Linked DNA regions of Homo sapiens: regions 2 and 3 are each linked to region 1. The links are contacts of gene promoters, found by promoter capture Hi-C in blood cells and fetal thymus (Javierre and others, 2016). All regions are on one chromosome and are shown on one strand. The core of a region is centred on a gene start or on the middle of the fragment in contact, and the rest is flanking DNA. Distances in the headings are between cores, read along the strand shown.

Region 1 (4,603 bases), core at 905-3,404:
TCCCAATCTGAAACCCTGTACCCATTAAACAATACCTTCCCATACTCTCTTCCTGCAGCCCTTGGTAGCCTCTACTCTTTCTGTCTCTGTGAATTCACCTATTCTTCTTGCTGAGCCTTGCTGTTATCATTATTCATTCGACATTATTCATTATTCATGAGTGCTTATTATGGACACCAGGAGTTCAACAGTAAACAAAAGTCCCTGCTCTCAAGGAGCTTTTATTTTAGTGGGAGGGAGACAATAAACAGCGAGCACATTTAAAATATTTTTTAAAAATGAGATTATCTTATACACAATTCTTCTGCAACTTGATCTTTTCACTTGACAGTACATCTTGGACATCTTTTTCTATGTCAGTCTGAAGAGGCCTATCTCTTATTTATAATAGCTAAATTTATTGAGTCTCTACTTTGCTCCAGGCACTGTTTTAGTTGCAACAATCCTATGAGGTAAGTTCTATAATGATCATCTTTTTACAGATGGCCCAGATAAGTGTAGGAGCTTGCATAGTCACCTGGCCAGTCACTGGTGGAGACAGAACTAAACTCAGATGACCTGATTCCTTACTCCAATTCTACCCTCTTTTGAATGGCTACATAGTACTCTTTTGTATCAATATACCTTAACTTATTTAGGCAGTCTCTTATATGTAAGCCATTTTTAGGTGTTTTTTTGTTGTTGCTATCATAGTGCTATAATTAACATATTTAGAGATATGTTTGCACGTGTGTGTGGTTTTCTATAAGGTAAATTCCTAAGAAATAAAAACACATACACATTTCAATACTTGATAGGCACTACTATACTCAGTTTCCTTTAAAAAATATTTTACCAATTTATATTCCCACTAACAGTATAGGAAAAGGAAAAGGCCCTGATTTCCTTATATCTTCTTTAACAAAGGGAATTACCAAACTTATATTTGCCCCATATGATAGGTTTAAAAATGGTATAGAGGTGATACTTAAAAATGTTTTTCACTTAAAAGTGTTTTTTATTTTAAATATTTTAAAGAGATGATTGCTTCCTGCTCTAAGCTGTTCTTGGTCCTCTTTTATCATGTAAGAAAGAAAGCCATCTCTCTTATTTCCAGAAATCTGTAGTTTCTTGTTACTGTGGAACCTTGGTAGGAAAAGGCCCTTGTTTCTGTGAAAACCTGAGGGCCCAGCGTGAGGATGTTCCAGGAGAGTGGAGTTGATGGTGCGCAGGGGATTAGCTTGCTCTGGTTATAGAGACATGATTAAAATCTATTTGATTTCAGTACTTAACTGGCAAATCTGATGCAACTTCTGGAAAATTCCTAGATGGCTTTAGGCATATTTAAAAGAAGCCATATTTTTCCTTTTAAAAATAGATATGCACCAAAATATTTTATTTTCATCTAATCCCGCTTTAACAACCAGAATCCCCTTAAAAGCAATTCCAAACTAAAAGATGTAAATCCATTTCCTATGTGCATTTGTTCTTTGGTACCATCAGGGTTAATGTTTGCATCCTCTGTGCTGAAATTAAGGATGTTGGGAAAGAAGTGTCATTGCTTTGCCTACTAAATGTCACTTGAGTATGCTTAGCTTTCATCCATAAGAGAGCTGAACTTCCCCTGTAAAAAAAAAAAAAAAAAAAAAAAAAAAGTGACAAAAACCCACTGCTGATTCTTTCATCTCTGCAAAAGCAGGTGGGAACTGCAAACAGATTTGCTTATCTTCCTCAGTCAAGGGCTGGTAAAAGTTTGGTAAGTAGGCCTGGTAGCCGGTGTCCCCTTCCATTGTTCATTTTCATCCTCCTGAATTCTTGATTCCCACAGAGGAAGCCATCCTCAGAAGCCAGCCTCTTGGGAGTTTCCTTTTGTTTCCCCAAGATTAACCAGTTCTGTCCTGTCAGCAGGAGCAGGCAACTAGGGGAGGAGAGGCTCTTCAGGGCTTTCAGCATTTTTCCAAGGAGTGCTTTTCTCCCTCAATTCCTCACTGACAGTGAAGCTGCTTTCTTGTAAGGTCTTCCTCTTCTTCTGATGAGATGCTGATTCTGATTGCCATCTAGCAGCTTCCGGTGGTGGTAAGTGGTCAAGAGTGTTTTTCCAGGAGTTGATCTCAGGTTTTTGAGAATGCCCCCTAGAGACCCAGTTTGTTTTCTGTATCATCCCTCAAGCTTTCAGAGTAGCCTTGCTTTTCTCCTTGGCATGGTCACGGAATGGATACCTGTTTGATCTTCCTGCACTGCTGAGAAATCTTCCTTTTGGGGGAGAGGATTAAGTCTGGGTTGAGGTGAGTAGATGGGTAGCATTCAATGGTTAGTGAGATGAAGTGGAAATTTAGCTGTGGGCTGGTTGGAACGATCTGTTTCTTTTCTCCAGATCCCTATTTTGTTTTGCTGTTTTCATCTTGGTGACTAAGGTTTCACAAATATTCTTTATTATTCCCCTTTTGCTAAAAAATAAATTTGGGGGAGTTAGTTGGAAATGGGAGATGTGACATTTTCTTTTTTGTTGTTTGAAATGTCTATTTTTTACTCTGTTAGCATGCCTATTAAATGACCAATGATAGTAGCATAAAGGTACATTTCTTCTTGGTTTGTAGGTCTTTGTCACTTCCTTTGGTAGTAGTTGGTTTTATTTTTTTCACGGGGTTTGTATACAGTGCACCTATTCAATATATTGTTTATGGTCAATTTATGCTTTAGACATGAACAGTTTGCACTGAGCTATCCCTCTGAGGTTTGAGGGTTATGTTTTTAGTGCTAAAATTTGTCTGAACAGAAAAAGGTATCCTTCTAGTTGTTTTGTTTATAGGCAAGAGAGTGTCTCAGGTCCCTGGTTAACAATTAGCTGTTTTGAAGAAAAGAAAACTGGTGAAAAACATTAATTGGAAGCTGAAGTCTTGTTAGAAAGTAAATGAGGAAACACAGGTTTTCTTGTGGGATTACCAACACCTGTGCCCATGAAGTATCCCCTTTTACTCAGCTGTTGCTCCATGCTGGCCTTTACTACAAAATGTAAACTCAGAGTGATTTCAGTTTTGATTTTTTTAAATGTATTTTTTATTTTTTATGTGATATGTAATAACTGCACATATTTATGGGGTACATGTGATATTTTGGTATATGCATACGATGTGTAATTAGCATATATATCACCTCAAACATTTACCATTTCTTTGTGTTGGGAACATTCCAAATCTGCTAGCTATTTTGAGATACAATAAATTATCATTATCTATATCGTTTATTTTATCGTTTATATCTATATCGTTTATTATAAATAAAAAATAAATTATCATTATCTATTGTCATACTACCGTGTTATCAAATACTAGAACCTGTTCCTTCTATCTGACTGTATGTTTGTACCCATTAACCAGCCTACCTTCACCCCCTTCTTCCTCTTCCCCTTCCTAACCTCTGGTAACCACCATTCTCCCTCTCTACCTTCATGAGATCAACTTTTTTAGCTCCCACATATGACAGAGGATATGTGATATTTGTCTTTCTGTGCCTGGCTTATTTTGCTTAACATAATATCCTCCAGTTCCATCCATGTTGCTGCAAATGATAGAGTTTTATTCTTTTTCATGGCTGAATAATATTCCATTGTATATAAATACCACATTTAAAAATTTTATTCCTCAAGAAGAAATATTATTGCTTCCATATCTTGGCTATTGTGAATAGTGCTGCAATAAACAGGGGAGTACAGATATCTCTTCAAGGTACTTATTTCCTTTCTTTTGGATGTATTCCCAGAAGTGGGATTGCTGGATCATATGGTGGATCTGTTTTCACTTTTTTTGAGAAACCACAGAGTGATTTATTTTAACCTATATTGTGCCTTTATATTGTCTCATCATGCAGAAATATTTAAAAATGAGGGAACAAATGATTTTTTTTGTGCCCCTGGAGGATTTTTTTGTGGGTGGGAGAATTTTATTTTTTTCATATGTGGCATATTGAATATTTTCATTTAGTAGGAAAAGAGTTAACTAACCATCTAAAAGTAAATTGGAAATTGTAGCTGTCATTGAAATTAAACTTAATGTATGTTTGGCCAGATGCAGTGGCTCATGCCTGTAATCCCAGCACTTTGGGAGGCTGAGGCAAGTGGATTACTTGAGGTCAGGAGTTCGAGACTACCCTGGCCAACATGATGAAACGCCCTCTCTACTAAAAATACAAAAATTTACCAGGCATGGTGGTGGGCTCCTGTAATCTCAACTACTCAGGAGGCTGAGGCAGGAGAATCGCCTGAACCGTGTGGTGGAGGTTGCAGTGAGCCGAGATCAGGCCACTACACTCCAGCCTGGGTGACAGAGCGAGACTCTGTCTCCACAAAAAAATAAATAAATAAAAAATAAAAAACAAAACTTAATGTGTGTAATCTAAATTCTTGTATAGCATGAGTAAGAATTAGAAACAAGTATTTATTTTTAGAATCTCTCATGAAAAGATATTAAAAAATAGTAACCTCCTAGCAACATTATATATTTCAAATATTAATAAATTCTAATTAAATATTAAATATTATTGATCATTATGTTTTTGGAAACATGTTCCTTCCTTACTTTAAAGCTACCTTGCTTTTCTCTCTCCTTTTATTTACTCAACTGGAGTT
Region 2 (4,603 bases), core at 1,478-3,977, 890 kb after region 1:
ATAGGCTCCTAAAATCAGCCGAAGGACAATGTATGTGAAATGGGAGAATCAATTAAAGAGGAGGAAATGAAGCAAAATTCCCCATATTGACTGAGTGCTCTAATATAACTGACTAAATATCTACTATATGCCAATCATTGTAATAGATGCCTTCCATGGATTATTTTAACTCAATAACATGGATACATTATCTCTTTTAAAATATATTAAGTGGCTAACCACTTAAGCATACAAAGCATGCATGGGAATATAAAGGTAAAAGGCAGAAGGCTTGCCTTTTAAAAGTTCACAATCTAGCCAAGATGACATGAACATAAATAACTACCAAACAGTAATGGCACGTGATAATAATACTGGGTGGCATACGTGGCTGAGAGAGTATTATTTCTAAAAGTCCGCATTTGATAGAGAGAGGACGTCTTCCTGGAGGCTCAAAGAGGTTTAGCTGCTTTCCAAAAATGCGTAGTCTGACTTCAGCTCATCAGAATTTTACTCTACTGTCACTCACAGAAGTTGAAAATATGTTGCTCACCATCAACAAGAGGTCACACAATTTGAAAGCAGATACAGTTATGTTAGCATATCTGACAGGTTCTATTCCTAGTTAAAAGGACATCTTGAAAGTCACTAAGAAAAGAAAAACAGAAAGAGATTTTGAGAGGGGAATATGAACAGAGGGGGTAGGCAGGTATGAGGAGAAAAAGAGGAGGATAGTTGCACATATGTAGGAAGCTACATGAGCAACGTTCCAGAAAGAACTGTGATATAATTTGGATTTGCATCCCTGCCCAAATCTCATGCCAAGTTGTGATTCCCCAGTGTTGGAGGTGGGACCTGGTGGGAGGTGACTGGATCATGGGGGTGGATTTCCCCCTTTGGTATTGTTTTCATGATAGAGCTCTCACTAGATCTGGTTATTTAAAAAGTCTGTGGCACTTCCCACCTCTCTCTCTTCCTCCTGGCTCTGGCCATGTAGACATGCCTGCTTCCCCTTTGCCTTCCACCATGCTTGTAAGTTTCCTGAGGCCTCCCTAGCCATGCTTCCTGTACACCTGTAGAATTGTGAGTCAATTAAACCTCTTTTCCTTATAAATCACTCAGTCTCAGGTATTTCTTTATAGCAGTGCAAGAATGAACTAATATGGAAAATTGGTAACAAGGACAGGGGCATTGGTATAAAGATACCTGAAAATGTGAATTTGCATTTGGAACTGGGTAACAGGTAGAGGTTGGACCAATTTGGAGGGCTGAGAAAAAGACAGGAAGATGAGGAAAATTTGTAACTTCCTAGAGACTTGTTGAACGGTTGCTTTGAAAATCCTGATAGTGATATGGACAATGAAATCCCAGCTAAGAAGGTCTCAGATGAAAATGAGGAACTTCTTGGGAACTAGTGTAAAGGTCATTTTTGTTATGCATTAACAAAGAGCCTGGAGGCATCTAGGGGTATGTGGAACTTTGAACTTGAGAGTGATGGTTTAGGTTACTGACAGGAGAAATTTCTAAGCAGCAAAGCAGTCAAGATATAGCCTGCTGCTTCTAACAACCTATGTTCATATGCGTGAGCAAAGAAATGACCTGAAACTGAAACTTATATTTAAAAGGGAAGCAAAGTGTACGAGTTTGAAAAATTTGAAGGCTGGCCATGTGGTAGAAAAGAAAAGGCCTTTTTGGAGGAGGAGTTCAAGCCAGCTACAGAAATTTGCATAAGTAAAGAATAGTCAAATGCTGATGGCCAAGACAAAGGGGAAAAGACTTTCAAAGCATTTCAGAAACCTTTGCAGCAGTTCCTTCCATCACAGGCATGTAGGTCTAAGAAGGAAGAATGGTTTCATGAACAGGGACCAGGGTCCCACTTCCCTGCACAGGCTCAAGACACTGCTCCCCATATCCTGACCCCTCTGCCTCCAGGGGTGGCTGAAAGGACTTCAGATACAGCTCAGGCTGCTGCTTCAGAATGTGCAAGCCATAAAACTTGGTGTTTCTATGAGGTGTTTAGCCTGCCAATGTTCAGAGTGCAAGAGTTAAGGCTTCGGGAGCCTCTGCCTAGATTTCAGAGTATGTGTAGAAAAGCCTAAATGTCTAGGCAGAACCCTGCTGCAGGAGCAGAGCCGTCATGGAGAATCTCTACTAGGGCAGTACTGAAGGGAAATCTGGGGTTGAATCCCTCACACAGAGCCCCACTGGGGCACTACCTAGTGGAGCTGTGAGAAGAGGGCCATTGTCTTCGAGACTGCAGAATGGTAGATCAACCAGGAGCTTGTACCATGCACATGTAAAAGCCGCAGGTGCATGAACACTAGCCCATGAAAGCAGCCTCAGGGGCTTTACTTTGCAAAGCCTCAGAGGTGCAGCTTCCCAACCTTAGGAGCCCACCCCTTGCCCCAGTGTGCCCTGGAAGTGAGATGTGGAATCAAAGGAGATTATTTGGAGCTTTAAGATTTAATGACTCCCTTGCTGGGTTTCAAACTTACATGGGGCCTGTAGCCCCTTTCTTTTGGCTAATTTCTCCCTTTTGGAAAAGAAGTATTTACCCAGTGCCTGTACCCTCACTGTATGTTGGAAGTAATAACTAACCCATTTTTTATTTTACAGGCTTATAGGCAGAAGGGACTTGCCTTGTCTCAGATGAGATTTTGGACTGTGGACTTGTAAGTTAATGCTGGAATGAGTTAAGACTCTGAGGACTGTTGAGAAGGATGACTGAATTTTGGAATGTGAGTACCTGAGACTTGGGAGGGGCCAGGGACAGAATAATATGGTTTGGATTTGTGTCTCTGCCCAAATCTCATGTCAAATTATAATCCCCAGTTTTGGAAGTGGGGTCTGGTGGAAAGTGATTGGATCACAGAGGTGGATTTCCCCCTTTGGTACTCTTCTCGTGATACAGTTCTCACTTGACTTGGTTGTGTAAAAAGTGTGTAGCTGCCCCCAGCCCTCTGCCTCCTGCTCCACTCATGTAAGACATGCCTGCTTCTCCTTTGCTTTCCACCATGTTTGTAATTTGCCTGAGGCCTCCGCAGCCATGCTTCCTGTATATCCTGTAGAGAATCATGAGCCATTTATACCTCTTTTATTTATAAATTACCCAGTCTCAGGTATTTCTTTATAGCAGTGTAAGAATGGACTAATACAAACTGAAAAGTGCCAGCTCCCACAGAATTAGAAGTATGGCTCAAGTCTGTCAGAAAAAAACAAAAAAAAACTGCTTTTTGATTAGTTATTGATCTTTGCTCTTTCCCACATCCCTATCTCACCTCTCTACCTAGCCTTTTCCTGAGGTTCAAAACCACTCATTTTCCCACCAATTCTCAACCCTGCATTACATTATCCATTTGCTTTCTCTACCCCCACTTCCATGTTTGTAGAATTCTGAGAAAAGAATCCTGAAAATGAGCAGACATGACCCATTATTACATTAATACTTTCCACTTACATATTTTATTCATTTACTTGTTCTTCAAAGAAACATCTGCCCAGTGTCTACCCTGTGTGTGTCTGGACCTGGGGTAGGTAGACCATTATAAGACACCTGTGTGTGTCTGGATCTGGGGTAGACCATTTATAATAAGAGTAGCATCAAAAAAAATATGAAGTCGGAGGCACAGAAGAATGCCTGTAGGCATCTGGTACTTGCCTCCTCCATAAAGAAGAACCAAAATAACAAGTTGACAATCATAGTTAGAATAGATCATGTAAGAGAGAACACTGAATTCAACAAGAAGTGACAAGGAACACCTAAGGCAAGGAAGGAGAGGAAATCAGGGCAGCCTGCTCAGCCAGAATCAGCTGGGAGCCTGGAGAGGCTCTTCAGCGTGGGTAAAGGGCAAGAGAAACACCCCAAGTGGTCCACATTACTATCAAGGACTCCTGCAATCCTAGCCATAGGAGAGCGCCTCAACCCTTTAGGACCATGCGACTGACAGAGGAACTACTTGGAAATCACATGATGGCATTGCTCCAAAGAGGAAATTCATGCTGGGTTCCACACACCCCCAAGTCTTAAGCAACTTGCACATCACTATCCTGAGATCCCAGACTCTACTAGACCGCATCCTGCCATGGGGATCAACAGCTCCTGTCTCCACATCCTTGCAACCTCTCTGATGTCCCCTACCCACAGACACCACGAGTGCTAACTGCTGTTGTCAGAGCCAAAATGTAAGCCACTGGCAATAACTACAATACTCCCAGCAGTGGGACTGCTGTGTATTTTCACGAGCCCTAAATACAGACTCCCTCACTCACAGCAACTTCCATTGCACTGCTGAGGCCAAACCATGAGCCACTGGCAGAACCCTGGTATTCACAGCAGCAGAGCCACCATGGATTTTCAAGTGCCCCGAGGAAACGCTACCCCACCTGCAGCCACTACCTGGAGCCAAAGTGCATGCTCCCCAGCCAATTGTCTACGACTGCTGCCAGTAAAAGCAACCCCACTCTCCCCCGCAGCTGGGCCACATCACAGCCACTGCCACCACCACCTGGGCATTCCACTAGGTGGCTTGGTTCACTCTACTACTGCCTACCACTTGCATACACCACCAGGAGGCCTGAGGATAGGCCCGCCCTGCCAGACTCCACCCCTATGCCTAAGCATACA
Region 3 (4,603 bases), core at 1,087-3,586, 830 kb after region 1:
ATCAGTCTTCAAGAAAATGTGCATCTGATTTACTCTTCCATTATGTTGATGATTTTCTCTTTTTGACAGGAAGCGGGGTTTACCAAAAGACTATTGTACTCTGGTTACAGCCACTGACTTCTGAAGAATGTTAATAACAGAAGTTCTTATATTAATTTAATCCTCTTTTTAAAACCCTGGCTCGTATATTTGAAATGAGTTAATGATTTTAAGGCCAAACTGGGAAACAAAACAATAGAACTATGATTTTCGGTTCAATTATTTCATGGAACATGGTGTCATTTAAAACAAAAAACAAAAAGCAAAAAAAAAAAATGGCGAAACCTTGTCTCTACTAAAAATACAAAAATTAGCTGGGCGTGGTGGCATGTGCCTGACATCCCAGCTACTCAGGAGGCTGAGGAATGAAAATTGCTTGAACCCAGGAGGCAGAGGTTGCAGTGAGCGGAAGTCATGCCACTGTGCTCCGGCCTGGGTGATGAAGTGAGACTCGGTCTCAAAAAAACAAAACAAAACAAAAAAACAAAGTAACTCAACTAGTTAATAACAGAGTTGGAAACTGAATCCAGGTCTTATAACTCTTTCTTGCTGCCCCTAGGCCACGTTCTCAATGAGGTATGCATGATAACTATATCATGTTACCCACATGAATTAAAATCACCGATCAAGTCTTAGAAACGCATTTCAAAACACAAACCTAGATCTGTGCTAGAAGTGAACATTCCAGTAATTTAAAAACACTTTGATAAATGGGTTCCTTCCAAACAAAAAAAGAAAAACATCACAGAACTGCCCCCAAGAGATGACAGTGGGCTCTTCCTAAGAAGCTTTCAGTCCACAGTAATCTCCAAGTTCCCATTCCCATTCTCTCTTGAACCAGTCACATTGCCCCAGGCACTTGATCCAAGAAAACTGGGCCAGTGATGTGTGGGGAGAAAGTCTGCAAGGGATGGCTACAGCCCACAAGATTCAGTTTTCAAAGGCAGCCTCCTGATGTGCTCTTCTGCAGATTGAGGCACTAACATAGAGTTCACATTCACTCCAGCAATATCCCACTTTACTGTGACACCAGTTGTCCAGTGAGCCCTCAGCTGGAGAATCCACACAGCCAATTTGGTGTGTATTTCAATTAAGGATGAAATCTACCATATGCCCTCAATGACAGCTGCACAGCCCGTGAGCTGTTGAATTACACTACATTGAGGGAGTCAAATAGAAAAGCCTCTTAAGCCCTTTGAAATTTGGCTTGAAAAACAGAAAGATGACTTTCAGATGAAGGAAATGGGTGGATAAGATCACCATTGTTCAAAGACAGAGCTTCATGGAGGCACTTGTGGCCCAGGTGACTGGCCTCCTTCACATTTGTGAAGCAGGGCTATAAGTCAGGGCTATAGGTTATTTTGTCACAACTTTCTCACTCAGTAGTAGGGTGGGGAAATAAGAGAAGGCAGTTCTTTGTCCACATTCACCACTTTCTTTTCACCATGGCAAACATTAAGTATTCCTATCAGATACCACTTCTGAGAGGTTCCTGAGCTCTGTTCCATGCTCTGTGGACAAAAAAGCAGGCAACAAGTGCTTTGTCCACAGTCATGGAAAGAGGCACTGATAAATGGTGCTAAAACTCTGTTTTAGGTTGGTTTCTCTCAGACGCAGGCCCTGTGACAAAAATTTGAGGGTAAGAATTTGAGGGGAAGGTGATCCTAAGAAGCATTAAGAGAGGAATGGAAAGTGAAACAGGAAAAGACGCCAATATGAGGTGTACTGATATTGGCAGGTGAGTCTGGGCCCGCTGAGCTTCAAATCACAGGTTCTCAGGAACCTGTATGTGTAAAGCTCAGTCATGTCCCACCATGGGCAAGAAAGCCAAAGTATTTACCCAATAACTCCCAGTTACCACTGATTGAGGTGGCTCTCAAGGATATTAACTCCCTAGCACTTTCAGGTTGTCCCAGACACAAACAAAAATACTAAGCCCTCTGTTCTTGGTCTGAGACTCCCTGGGTCTTCTGGTAAGAGGGTATGGTAGAGAAAGTGTTAAGATATTCATGAAGAATTCTCATCATCTCCTACTTTTTAGTCAACTTCTAGTCCATCCTGCCTTCTCAAAACCTATCAATGGCAGCACTATGCTTTTCACCAACCATTGCACCTTGAAGCTGCAGCCCTTATTGACTCAACACCTTTTCTTCATTTCCTTCATTCATGTGCATCTGCTCACAGTGAGTGTCTACTGAGTGCCTATTACTTCCCAGGCTCCAGGCAGACAGCAGTGAGTAAGGCACACATGGCTCCTGACCACGTGCAGCTCACAGCCCACCAGAAAAGACAGAGGTTAAATTAAAACTACATTTATCATAAAGAACTTAATCCAATTATGATAAACTGCTATAATAGAAAAATACAGGACATGGTAAGAGCACATAAAAGAGTGTTTCACCTAACTGAGGTCAGGAGGTAGTCAAGGAAAACTTCCTCAAAGTAATGAAGTATATGCCAGAAGGAAAACAAAAATCCAATCACAGAGAGCCTGTACCCAACCCTTACTAGGTCCAGTCAGAGCTTCTCTCACATCTCTCCCTTTTTATCCCATCCTCACTGATACTCTAGTACCTACTTCTCTTCAACCAAGGCAAAAGCTCCTGCTGTCATATTAATATTTCTAAAATACCTTGCTAACAACCACTGCTTTCAAAGCCAAGCCTGGGTAAGGCTGAGCATAGCACTGAAGGTCCTGCCACAATCTGGTTCCACTAAACACATTACCCCTATTCCCCAGTATGTATGTCCTCTGCCATGCAGCTCGGACTCACCATTGCCTGAATACTCCATGCCAGAGTCTTGGCAGAGTATGCACTATTGAATCAACTGGCTGCGTGAAATTGGCTACATTCTTGAGTATTTGGTTTTTCTCTGCTCAAATTCAAGGAAACTGCCAAAACCCTGAGACTATTATGCCAACTTCTCCTCCCATTCTATCACCAGACAAAGAATAAGTTTCATACCAACTACTAAATGAAAGGAGCTGAAAAACTGGGTGACTGATGGCCCCTGACCAGACAGGCCCTGTAAAGAATCACTGTAAATTTTCCTTGAAGTGTCAAAGGAACATATGAAACTCTCTCTTTCACTGCTTCTCATGTTGCCACAAGGAGCTCAGGGTATGCAAAAAGCAACAGTATAATTTCTCTTCCCTACCTGACTTCCCATAATACTTATCATGGGTATCACACATTTTATTCTTCAACATAACTAAGGGATACTGTATAAGAAAAGCACTTCTGGAAACATTTAAGCCCCAAATGTGTGTAAAATATGAAAAATGTTGTACCTACTAAAGATCCTTGGCTACTTTATCATAAAAATGTGCTTCATTAAGATATCATTTATACAAGTAGTAATTATAAATCTCGAGTTTGCTTTGAAAAATTTTTAATTTTAGTCAAATGCTCTACAAGGCTCTGACTTTTTATGAATTTGCATGAATTAGCTTTTGAAAGCTGATGGAGAGAAAGAGACAGAGACAGAGAAACAAGATGAGAAAGAAGTTGAGAATAGAAGAAATTGCTAGCATTAATGCAAAACAAAGAAAAATTGTCTTTACTGGTTTAGTGTACTTCTCTGTGTTAACTTGATTAAAAAAAGGTACTCATTTTCAAAAAAGGATCTGAGAAAAATAGGAAGAAAGGAAAAATAAATGTTCTTCATTACAACTTTGCCATGTGGAGCCCTAGCTGATCAGTCTCAGTCTCATTTTCAAAACTATCTTGATTAGCCATTCTTCAACTGACACTTCATTATTGTTGTTGGAAAACAGAAAGTTTGGTCAGATTGAGATAAGCTTTTTTTTAAACTTTTTACATGAGAGGTTATTTATTTAATGAGACCATCTTCAAACAATAATTATATTCATTCACATGTTGCCAAAAATGGAAGAATAGAACCATATTGCAAAGAAAATATGCTTAGTAGAATTCCAGCCTATATTCCTAAGCAAAAGCATATTCCTAATATCAATATCTCTGAGTAAAGTGCACATTAGCAGTTTTATCTTCATTTCCCTTTTGTATAAAACCTGGGATTTTAGTGATTTGCAGCAACATGATTTAGAAAACATTTTCCATCTTGATAAAGTCTTTCATTTTTCTTTCTTCCACATTTTAAAAGAGAAAAATTCAGAGTATTTAAAACAGTGTGTTTATCTACGTCAATTGGGAGGAGTGTGTAGCAAAAAGCCAAATTCAGATGCCAATTTTGCTGACCAAAGTACCTCTAAAATGCATATGGGGTTACGCAGTTAAACTGAGAAAACATCCTCAAGAACAGGAGGTTCTGCAGTGGATTAAGATCTTCAGCTACTACTGCTTCCAAAGGAGATGCCCTTTTTCTAGTTAACTCTCAAAAAACATTCCCACATCCCAATAACTTTTACTACAGAGACTCAGCACTACAATTTTATCCATCATTTTCTTCTTGTATCTTTGGGAGAGTAGTCACAACATGAACTGATTTTACATGTCTAATACTTGTTTCAGCTCACCTATGGATCTGGTAGAGGATATCTAATTTCGTGATAAAACTTTGAAAACAATGTTGTGTATGT

Evidence for each region. The method cuts DNA at HindIII sites, captures the fragments that hold promoters and counts their contacts. A CHiCAGO score of 5 or more calls a contact.
Region 2: a contact is called between a fragment that was not itself captured here and the fragment with the promoter of ATP8B4 in region 1, in 5 of 17 cell types (monocytes, M1 macrophages, megakaryocytes and 2 more). The highest score is 6.9, in monocytes.
Region 3: a contact is called between a fragment that was not itself captured here and the fragment with the promoter of ATP8B4 in region 1, in 1 of 17 cell types (erythroblasts). The highest score is 5.1, in erythroblasts.

The regions. Positions count from the first base shown.
Region 1 is chr15:50,116,784-50,121,386 of GRCh38, reverse strand. It overlaps ATP8B4 (ATPase phospholipid transporting 8B4 (putative)), which reads left to right and starts at 2,154. Exons shown (of 28, transcript NM_024837.4): 1 at 2,154-2,264. RefSeq lists an enhancer at 4,437-4,603. The HindIII fragment of the contact is 5,193 bases long and covers 2,151-4,603 here.
Region 2 is chr15:49,229,602-49,234,204 of GRCh38, reverse strand. The region is part of intron 3 of GALK2 (galactokinase 2); the gene reads right to left. Among named protein-coding and RNA genes, the nearest start is that of GALK2, 62 kb to the right of the region's middle. RefSeq lists enhancers at 1,287-1,957, 1,958-2,629. The HindIII fragment of the contact is 9,875 bases long and covers 1-4,603 here.
Region 3 is chr15:49,286,869-49,291,471 of GRCh38, reverse strand. The region is part of intron 7 of GALK2 (galactokinase 2); the gene reads right to left. Among named protein-coding and RNA genes, the nearest start is that of GALK2, 120 kb to the right of the region's middle. The HindIII fragment of the contact is 3,014 bases long and covers 830-3,843 here.